Regions from separate parts of the Homo sapiens genome. Here region 2 is linked to region 1. Evidence: promoter capture Hi-C in 16 types of primary human blood cells and fetal thymus (Javierre and others, 2016). All regions are on one chromosome and are shown on one strand. Each heading gives the region's core, a stretch centred on a gene start or on the middle of the fragment in contact. The rest is flanking DNA. Distances are from core to core; before and after follow the strand shown.

Region 1 (4,909 bases), core at 1,798-4,297:
ATAAGATCTTTGGTGGGCGTGGGGGTTTGGGTGGATTTGCCGCAGTTGGCTTTGCTTTCCTAGCAGTACTCAAAGGTTGAGGCCATGGAAGGGCTTGGGACAATCAGCAAGGCTGGCTGGGAAGAAGACACAAAGAGATAGGACCTTGCAGGAGAGGGGCCACCTCTGAGGCCACCCCTGCCTCCCTGGGCATACCTGGTGGCATCAGGCCTGATCCTCTACAATGTCTGTCCCTGCCCTTGCCTGCTACTTCCAGGCCTACCTCCAGCCCAGACCTGCCCAGGCCTGCCCAGGCCCTGCTCTACCCTGATGCTCTGTGGCTCTGTTCCTGGGACTCTTCCTGGGAGACAGAAGGGAGATGAGAGCTCAAGAACCAGCACCGAGATGCCAATCTAGCCGGCACCAGCTGCCTGTTCTCTGGGCACTCCTCCCTCATCTCACAGCCACCCAGCCTGCCTTTCCAGAGTGACAAAAGAGTGCCTGGGTGCCCCCTGCTCACCCTGATCCACACTTGGTGTCCAGAGACTTTTCCCCACACCTTCCAACCAGCGAGTCCTCCCTCTAGTGTTGCCCCATGGGCAGCTTGGGAAGTGGGGAAGGGGCTGCATCTGCTCCTGGTAAAAGTCATGTTTACGCCACTAATCGCTGCTTTCCTTCTCTCCAGGTAACAAGAAATGCATGCATCTACAGCAAGAAAGATGGATGCTACAGAGAGAGAGGGGGACTTCCTGGTGATGAGAGGAGGTGGAAATTATGCTCAGTGTCAGGAGGGTGGTGAGCCTCCTGCCACTTCTATGGCCCTTCTCAGTCCCCTGGCCCTGCAAAGGGCAGGACTCACCCCTGGAAGCGTCTTCTGTTCGTGCAGGGCGCTCTGGGCCTTCAGGGCTGAATCCCGGGCACAGTATGTCAGGAAGGCACATCCTGAGGAGGGGCAGGGGCAGAGAAACACGGCGGGGGGTGAGTCCTCCATCTCCCCTCTCTGAAAGGCTCCCTTCCAAAGACTGACGACTGGGAAGCTTTCCCTTCTTGTCATCTTCTGCCTGCTGGGGTAGAGAGGTGTCTCCAAGGGGTAGACTCTCTGCCCCAGAAGTGGGGCAGACACCTGGAGGCCTAAATACTGGTGGTGATGGGAGAGGGAGGACACTTGGGCTGTCAGGAGATGGGCTTTGTGTAGGGAGAGAAGGACCATGTGACCGCCAGACAAGTAAGAGTAGTGTGGCTTTCTCTCCTGCTGAGCTGTTCTCCTTTCCCCTCTCTCCCTCACCTCCACCTCCCTCCATCTTGATCACCATCATCCCTCTCTTCTCCCATTTTCCCTATTTCCTCATCTCTCCCCACCTCCACCATAGGCAGGTGGAGGACGGAGAGTGAAATAGAGAAGGGAAGGGAAGAACAGTTAGTTAGCCGGAAGTGCCTCTTCCCTGTGCCAGGTGGAGGGGGAGCTGGTGTGGCCCCTGGGATCCCCGGTGTGTGGAGCTCTCCAAGTGCTGACCCTGACCGCCCCCACTTAGCCGCACAGCCCTTGGATAGGCCTGAGGAGCACCCTCCCTTCTCCCCCACTCTCTTAACTTTCTAAGCCTCCCACACTTTCCAGATCTTTACCAATCTCCAGCCTTCATGCCCTGCTTCCTAGTCCCTCTCTTTAGTCCTGGAGCTGCCCTGCCCAGTCCAGCTCCACGCTTTCCACATTGAACACCTGACCCTGTGTCCTGACCCCCATCCCAATATTATCTGAGGCTGCTCAGATTCTCAGTCTTGCTGCACACGCACACACACACACACCCCTACCCAGCTGCTTATCTCCCAAACCAGCTCTCTTGTCCCTCCATTCTTTCTTGAGTTCATCCCATGACATCAACACACCCATATGTCTGGGATCCACATCTTTGCAGCCGTCTTGACAACTCTTCAGCCAAAAGAGGCCCTCCTTAGTCCTTCACCGGGGTTTCCTGATCACTCTAGCTGAGTTCTTTTTCAGCTCCTCCATCCACTTTCCTCAGGCCTGAACTCTTCTCCTTCCACATCAGCCCTTCCCAGCCGCTCCACCCCTCCAGCCTGGCTTAACTTCCCCCAGCCTCCCAGCCCACCCCGAAGCCTCTTCAGCCTGCCCGACCCCTCACCCTTGTGCAGCCCGGTGTACTTGTCCTTGATGACAGTCAGCTCAAAGATCCGACCAAACTGTTCGAAGATGGGCTTCAGGTCCTTCTCCTCCAGATGCCTCGGGATCTGCCCCACAAACAGCTTGATGGCATCCGGCTCCTTCATTGAGGCGGCCCAGGAGGAGGGGCCGAGGGGAGCAGGGAGAGGCCCAAAGGCCAAGGGGAGCTGCCCAGCAAGGAGATAAGTGGTGGGGCCCGGGGGCCCAGCTGGGGCTGGCTTTCCCTTTGGCCCCCAACCACGCTGCTAAGCAGAGGGGCGGCTCTTCACACAAAGGAGGCCCAGGGAGTTGAGTGCTAGGGGTCAGGGGTCTAGGCAGACGCTGTCATGCCACCAGGGGGCATCGCCTAAACAAACGATCTCCCTCCCAGAGATCTGGCAAATGTCCCAGGATGGGGGTGAGTATGGCCAAGACCTGGAGGGTTAGGTGGTAGCCGGGGGTGCTAGGGCTTAGAGGGCTGGGAACTGGGAGTTGAGATGAGAGCTGGAGGCGGGGAAAGGGCCTGAGGAGGGTGATGGGGAGGAGACTGAGGGGTTAAGGGGCCTGCTATGGTTGCCAGCAGCGTCAGTAAGGGGGGCCCACTCCTGATGTGGGGCAGGTGAATCTCTCGTTGGCTTCCCTGGGAGGACACCTCCCCTGTGGCGGATCCTTCTGCTGGGTCCGAAGATCCCTGATGCCAGATGCTTGATCTCTGATGGCGGCAGGGCTCCAGGGGTCCCTTTTGCCCTGCCGCCCCCCTTCAGGTCCTCCCCTCAGCCCCCCTCCCACCCCCACCCCAGTCCCCGGGCCTGGGCTGCTGCCGGCTGCTCCCGCCGCTGGGGCTGCCTGCTTTCCCGGTCACCTGGGTCCCGGAGCTCTGCTCTCCGGCCGCGCTCTCCTCAACAAAAACCTCCCCCCTCCACACCCCCCTCCCCACTCCCACCTCCTTTCCCCTGACATCAGTGATGTCAGTCTCAGGGGTCGAATACAAATTCTCTACCCTGGAGAGGGACGCACAATCCAGGCACGAGCCACGCCCTCTTTCTATCTCCATCCTCCCTGACTCCCTTCCCGCCCCCAGAAGAGCAGCTGGTCCTGTTGATAATAACCCTTCCCCCATCTTACTCCCCAGTCAGGAGTTGGGCAAAGCACTAAGATGGAGAATTTATAGAGGAACCCTAAAGTGGGGTCCATTGTTCCGGGGGCTGGAGCTGTCCCCGGTGCTGGAAGACTCAGCAGATGGGGGGTGGCGGGGAAAGAGGGGAGCCCGGCATCTGGGGAGCCCCAAGAGTAGAGAGTCAAGGAAAGAAATCAGGGGAAAGAAAAATGAGAAAGGACGGTTGCATAGGCTGAAGGGAAAGGAGATATAGATGGAGAGGGAAGCAGGTCGCAGAGTCTGGGGGAAAAAGAAAAAATGCAGAGAGGAAAAATGGAAAGGGACGTGGAGAAGGAGGAGCAGGATGAGAAGAATGCAGAAAGAGAACTGTATATTTTCCAGAAAAGGAACCAAGAAAAACGATAGCTTTCTGGCATTTGCCGATGCCCCCTTCTCTCCCTCTGGGGGGTTTGTGTGTATAAGTGCGTGGGCAGGGAGGCCGCGGAGGCGGCGCCGCGGGCGCTCTCACTTGTAAGCTCCTTGAAGACCAGGACACCGTTTAATTCAGCATCTTACTGTTCACAGTGTCTAGCACCCTGTCTTGCTCATGCGTAGCAGGAGCTTAACAAACACTCCATGCAAACAACCTCTGACAACAGTGGATTCCTGATTCCTTCAGTGGGAAGAACCACAGCTGTCAAGCTTCCCCTTAGGATGCAGAAACCCAATTACTCTTTCCTTTGCTTCTTTCTTCAGTTGGGTTCTTTGAGTTGGACTCAAATTGAGCCAGGTAGCACAGAAGAGCAGGGGAGGCACATTCGGGGACCATTGCTCCCCTGACCATGGATACTTCTATGGATGATTGGCAGGCTCCACGATCTGGAGGGAGCGTGACCCCTCCATGCACTGGGCCCACTCAGAGCACGCCCTCAGTGCAGGGATTATCTGTGGACATCAAACCTTGTCAGTGGTGGTAGCCCTTGCTTTCTGTCAGTGCTCAGCAACGGGGGCTCTCCTGGGGCTCTGGGCTTTTGTAGAGCACCCTGTCTTCCTGTCATTCCCTTCTTCTCCCCCGGGGTAGGGCTGCTGTTTCCACAGAGGCACTCGTGTCTCTAAACTGTGTCCCAGCTGAGTCCCAGGGGCCTCCATTCCTGAGCTATCACGGCAGGCAGGCTTCTCTTCTGGAAGGGAAATAATAGTAACAGCCAGTGCTTACATGGCTCTTACAGTGTCCCAGGCTTTGTGCCAAGTGCTTTATATTTACTAACTCCTAAACCCTCACCACCCCCCTATGATGTAGATTTTGTCATCTCCAAATAGAGAGGAGGTAACCAAGACACAGAGCTGAAATAACTTGCCTAAAGCCATGCAGCTAGAAAGAGGTCTAGCTGAGACTGGAGCCTGGGCAGTCTGGCTCCTGAGTCCACGCATTTAACTCCCACATCAAACATTCCTCTTGAGAATGGGAGCAGTGGTGAAGTCTGGCCTTTCTTCCTCTTCTGTCTCCATTTAAGCCCTGGATGAGAGAGAGTCTTTCTTTTTACTGCTTGATTCTGTGGACCACCTCCCATCCTTCCTTAGCCTGTTTTTTTGTTGTGGCCTGGAGCCACGCTCTGGCAGGTGCTTGCATTTGAGTGAATGTGTATGTGTGTAGACTTGATTACACTTCATCACAT
Region 2 (4,909 bases), core at 1,094-3,593, 130 kb after region 1:
ACTGAGCTCATTGTTTACCCCCACCTCTTTCTGTATTTCCAGTGATAACCACCTGGAAACTCATAAGCCAGAAACTTGGAGCTCGTCTTCACAGATCCACATTGTATAACTAGTGGCACAGTCCTGCACTTCCTGTATTTGTAACATTTTCTCATATCTCTCAGCTTCGCAGCTCTGACCCCTGCAGGCCCTTACTGTCTCTAGTGTAAAGCCTGTGGGGATCTCCTAACTAGTACTCCTGCCTTCAGTCTTGCTGACGCCTTACTGCCACTGAGTCATCTTTCTAAATAACAAAGCTCTGTCACTCCCCAGCCCAAGCCCTTTGGAGGCTCCCTGTTGCCTGCAAGACAAAGTTCCAGCTCTCCATCAGGGATTATGAAGCCTTCCTGTGGTTTGCTCCTGCCCACCTTCTCTTTCCCTAAACGCCTGCCCTCCTCAACACCTTGCTCTTCTCCAAAGTCCCTGTACACTTTCACACCTCTGCACCTTTGTCTTACTTCTTACTTCCCTTCTGCCTGGGATATCCTCCTCTCCCCTGCCTGCCTAATGAACACCACTTAACTTTTGAGACAGTTCAGGAAGAGCTTCTTCTAGAAGATGTTTTCTGATTGCTTTTGTAGAGTAAAATTAGCCCTTCCTCCCGCTGAGATGACACTGCACTCATGATGGAAGCCAGGGTGGGTGTGGGAGGAGCGTGATAGGGCACTCTGACTTGGCACCTGGCTCCCGCATTGTGCATCTTGAGACCGGGGCCCTGTCTTTCACTTCTGGGTGCCTGGTGCCTCACACAGTGCCTGACACCTGGCGGGTACTCAGTAAATCTTTTCAGTCGGTGCTGAATGGGAAGGTGGGTATGTGAGATGCCCTGGAAGGATTTTGATTTCCAACCACAGAAAGGCCCTGGGCCGAGAATGGGACTGTGAGACTTTATTTACTCAGAGAAAAGGGTCCTTTCCCTCGCCTCACCAATTGCTGCTTGAGGACCCCTCCCTGCTCTTTGATGGGTCCCAGGCAGGCAGGGGAGGCAGGAGGCAGGAGGCAGGCAGGGGAGGCAGGAGGCAGGAGGCAGGCAGGGGAGGCAGGAGGCAGGCAGGGGAGGCAGGAGGCAGGAGGCAGGCAGGGGAGGCAGGAGGCAGGAGGCAGGCAGGGGAGGCAGTGGCTCTCCTGCAGGCACAGTGACTGTTACTGGGGAGACTCTTCTTCCAACTGCAGCTGAAGGAAAACACCTGCAAGAGAAGGGTGAGTTGAGCTGCAAGAGCTGCACTGAGATGGCTGGAGCTTGATGGACACTCTGAGCATTTGGCTGCAAATTACCCATTACCTGGGTCCTGTCCTTTCGTTACAGGTTGGATAACTCATATATAGAAAAAAAAATCCTAGTTCTGCTCTCCCTTGCTTCATCTGTGTCCCTAGTAGGTGCCCTATCCCACCCCTAAAGAAGCTGGACCGCAGCTTGGGATGAATCATTGGCATCTTTTCTTCCTCCTGTTTGTTCTGGGGGTGGGTGGTGGTGGGACGGGGCCTGGGGCTGGGCTGGGGGCTCCTTTACCTGAGGACTTGGCATAAACTGTCTGCTGGTCTCTGCTGTGGGCGATGCAGGACATGTAAAGCTTCTGGTCCTCAATCTTGTCCAGTTCTACGTCCATTACAACCAGAGAGTCCACGGGGATCAAGCTGGGAGACGAGGCAGCTTAGCCCATCTCTCATGTGAACCCGGTTCCCCATCCCTTCACTCTCTGTGTCCTCTTCCCTCTCTTCATCCCTCCCGGCCTCGAGGACTCAGAAGTGGCCCTGGGCTCAGGGCCTTTTTGTCAGCTCCCAAAGTTGGACAGCAGAGGCTGTGTCCTGGCCAGGGACTAGAGGAATTGCTTGGGAGTGGGCTGGGGAAGGAGAGTGGCAGGCAGGGCTCCTACACCCCAGCTGCCGAGGATGGCCACTTCCAGGGATGAAAAGGTCTGTGACTTTGGCCAATGCCCCAGGGGCCCATACTTACTTTTTGAACCTGATGTTGAGACTTAGTGTGAACAGCCCCTCTCCAGCCAGGAAGGCAGTTTTAGAAAAGGTCTCGTCCATCATGGCTGCCAGGGACCCGCCGTGAGCAAACCTGGGGGTGGGGTAAGGTGAGGAGCAAGGCCTGGGCTGGGGCTGCTGGGCAGACCCCCTCAATGGGCCTTCCCTCCCTCCTGTGGTGATCCTACCTTTCCCTTTCCCTAGACCCTTCCAAACACAGACGTTCAGCCTCAGGGCAGCCAAATAGGAAAGAAGGAAACAGCTGCATCCCATCTGATCAAACCCGTCAAAATCAACTGAGCTTTTCTGTTTTGCTTCAGCATGCGTTTGCAGCCAATGATACAACATTTTATTTCATCAGGGAAATTGTTTTTTTCTGATAAAGTTAATAGAAAACATTTTTCTGGTTCATTACCTAATTGCTGGCAATAATTGCCATAATTTGGAAGGATGGGCATATACAGGAAATGAAAAAGTCCCTGAACTTTTTGACTCAGTCTTTGAGGCACAACCCTGGGCTGTTTCTCACCTTACCAGTCACTACAGCCAGTGCGGGGCCCACATCTCAAGATAAGTAAATGTGAAACATAACTTATGACCTATCAAGGGCTGGCATGACACACTTCTGAGCAGCGTTGCCACAGAAAGCAGAGCGCCTGCTTCAGCAGGCTCAATGCTGAAATTGAGCTGAAATGCTCAAATGCCGCAGACATTTGCTTTATTTAGAATGCATAGAATGGCCAGTCGCAGTGGCTCACGCCTGTAATCCCAGCACTTTGGGAGGCTGAGGTGGGCAGATCACTTGATGTCAGGAGTTCGAGACCAGCTTGGCCAGTATGGTGAAACTCCGTCTCTACTAAAAAATATAAAAATTAGACGGGTGTGGTGGCAAGCGCCTGTAACTCAGCTACTCGAGAGGCTGAGACATGAGAATCGATTGAACCCGGTGGGTGGAGGTTGCAGTGAGCTGAGATTGTGCCACTGCATTCCAGCCTGGGCAACAGATCAAGACTGTCTCAAAATTAAAAAAAAAAAAAAAAGCGTAAAATGTTCATTCTTGCTTTTGCAAGCTTTATGTCAGCTACTTCATGGTTGGCTAATTTGGGAAAATAGGCACCCATTTTAGAATTCAAATAACACCAAGCAGATTTGAGTTCCTGATTTTCAAAAGCACAGCCCATTCTCCACAGAGCCAGATCAGCTGTCCACACTGTACTGCCATGGGTTACCCTCCTGCTGCTGTGACCAGTGGCTTTTCCAGACCCTTCCCTCCCTGCTTCTTTAGTCTCTATCCACCCAGTTGGACTCCTTGTCCCACAGCTCACTACATGTTTGATCTTGAGCAAATTGCTAAACCTTTCTGAGCCTTAGTTTTTCCACCATGAATTTCACAATTCTGATCTCAGCAGATTAAATAAACAAATGTTTGCAAACATAATTTACACACTTCTTAGGCACTTCCCTGTCTGCCTCCCAAATTGCTTGAAAGAGAGTGAAAAGAGTTGGTGTCAAAGAACTCGAAACCAACTCTCTCCTCCTTGTCCTCACTGGCCAGCCTGGGGACCCATTGGCCAGTATGTGGATCTACAGAGTAGCTCTTGGCCAACGAGTAACTCCTCCTTCCCACTCCCCATGGTCTAGGGGCCTGGTGGATACTAATCTCTTCTCTAGACCCCCAACCCCTCAATCCACTGACTGGCCTTAGTGTTGGATGGTCCTCCTCTGCCTCTTTGGCCTCACTTCCATCAGCCCCTAAATAAAAGTCAGCCATGCTTCAGAAAGGAGGGAGTCCATGGCCTGGGCAGGGCTCTGAGCAATTCACTAGTATCTGCACAGCCTAGTGTGTGGAGCAGTGTCCCTGTGGAGGACTCCTTTGGGATGGCCAAGGTGACTGAGGGCTGCAGTTGGCATCCACAGCCTCTGGAGGCCCTGACATCTATTTAGCACTCTGGATTCTATTTAACCCCAGTTAAGCCCCTCTCAGGCTTCAGGACCCTAAAGCCACTCCTGCCCTCTCTTGTCTCTCCCTTGCAGGAGCTCCAGCACCACCTCCAGCCTTCAGTGACTGTCTGGAGCAGGCATCCGGATGGAAGAGAAGGGGGACAACCATGAACTTGGTGACCCACGGTCAGCCTGATTTCCCTTGTGGACACATTTATGCCCAGTGTGCATTCCTCCTGAGGTCTGTTCCAAGTCTGGAGGCAGCAGAGTAGAGTGGAGAGAACAGTGGACTTGGAATCTCACCTCCCAGATTAGAGTCCTGGATCTGACTTTGATTGCTGGTGCTGCCTCGGGCAAGTTACTTTAGCTGTGTGCATCTCCATTTCCCCATGGATAGAACATGGGTTTTGGGTAGAAGTGTCTGATAGCTGTACTGTGCTTTACGGTTCATGAGCACGCACACATAGGCCCATAATATCATATCTCTGGTCACCCTGGCAGGTAGATATTATTGCCCCAGGTTTCAGGTAAGAAGACTAAAGACCAGGGGTCAATTGCTTGCTCAGAGTCCCACAGCCAGCAGCAGCCAGGCAGGACACCAAGTCAGAGTCTAGATTCCGGATCTTGCCCTCTTCCAAGTGTACCACATTCTTCTCAAAGTGGCCTCTCAGGTCTTTTGTCCAGAAAATTTTGAGACTTTGATGAGAAGCCCATATCTGCACACTGGGGATTAGGCCAGATAACCCTGTGTGTCCTTCCAGGCCTGGTATTGTGAGGCTGAAGCCTAGTGCCCCACACTCCCTTCCTCACCCCTTAGAGAAAGATAGAGACTCCAGGGCCAGCCTGGTGGGTGCTGAACCTGCCCTGCTGAGCCAAGCCCAGGAGGCAGCCAAGGTCCTACCAGTGACCTTACCCTGGGGGCCCCTCCAGGTAGGAGCCTGGTTGGAAAAGACAGACC

Evidence for each region. Contacts are between HindIII fragments. The CHiCAGO score rates a contact against its expected background, and 5 or more counts as called.
Region 2: a fragment that was not itself captured here is called in contact with the fragment with the promoter of CELF3 in region 1 in 1 of 17 cell types (M1 macrophages); the score reaches 5.1 in M1 macrophages.

The regions. Positions count from the first base shown.
Region 1 is chr1:151,713,756-151,718,664 of GRCh38, forward strand. CELF3 (CUGBP Elav-like family member 3) reads right to left here and starts at 3,048. Exons shown (of 13, transcript NM_007185.7): 1 at 2,121-3,048; 2 at 839-921. The coding sequence starts at 2,265. It also overlaps a transcript of RIIAD1 not described here. RefSeq lists an enhancer at 2,978-3,272. The HindIII fragment of the contact is 2,919 bases long and covers 1,015-3,933 here.
Region 2 is chr1:151,846,189-151,851,097 of GRCh38, forward strand. It overlaps THEM5 (thioesterase superfamily member 5), which reads right to left. Exons shown (of 6, transcript NM_182578.4): 3 at 4,865-4,909; 4 at 1,994-2,104; 5 at 1,550-1,674; 6 at 913-1,226. The coding sequence ends at 1,183. It overlaps C2CD4D-AS1 (C2CD4D and THEM5 antisense RNA 1), which reads left to right. Exons shown (of 4, transcript NR_152846.1): 4 at 4,045-4,909. Among named protein-coding and RNA genes, the nearest start is that of THEM5, 5.1 kb to the right of the region's middle. RefSeq lists an enhancer at 1,736-2,503. The HindIII fragment of the contact is 1,470 bases long and covers 1,609-3,078 here.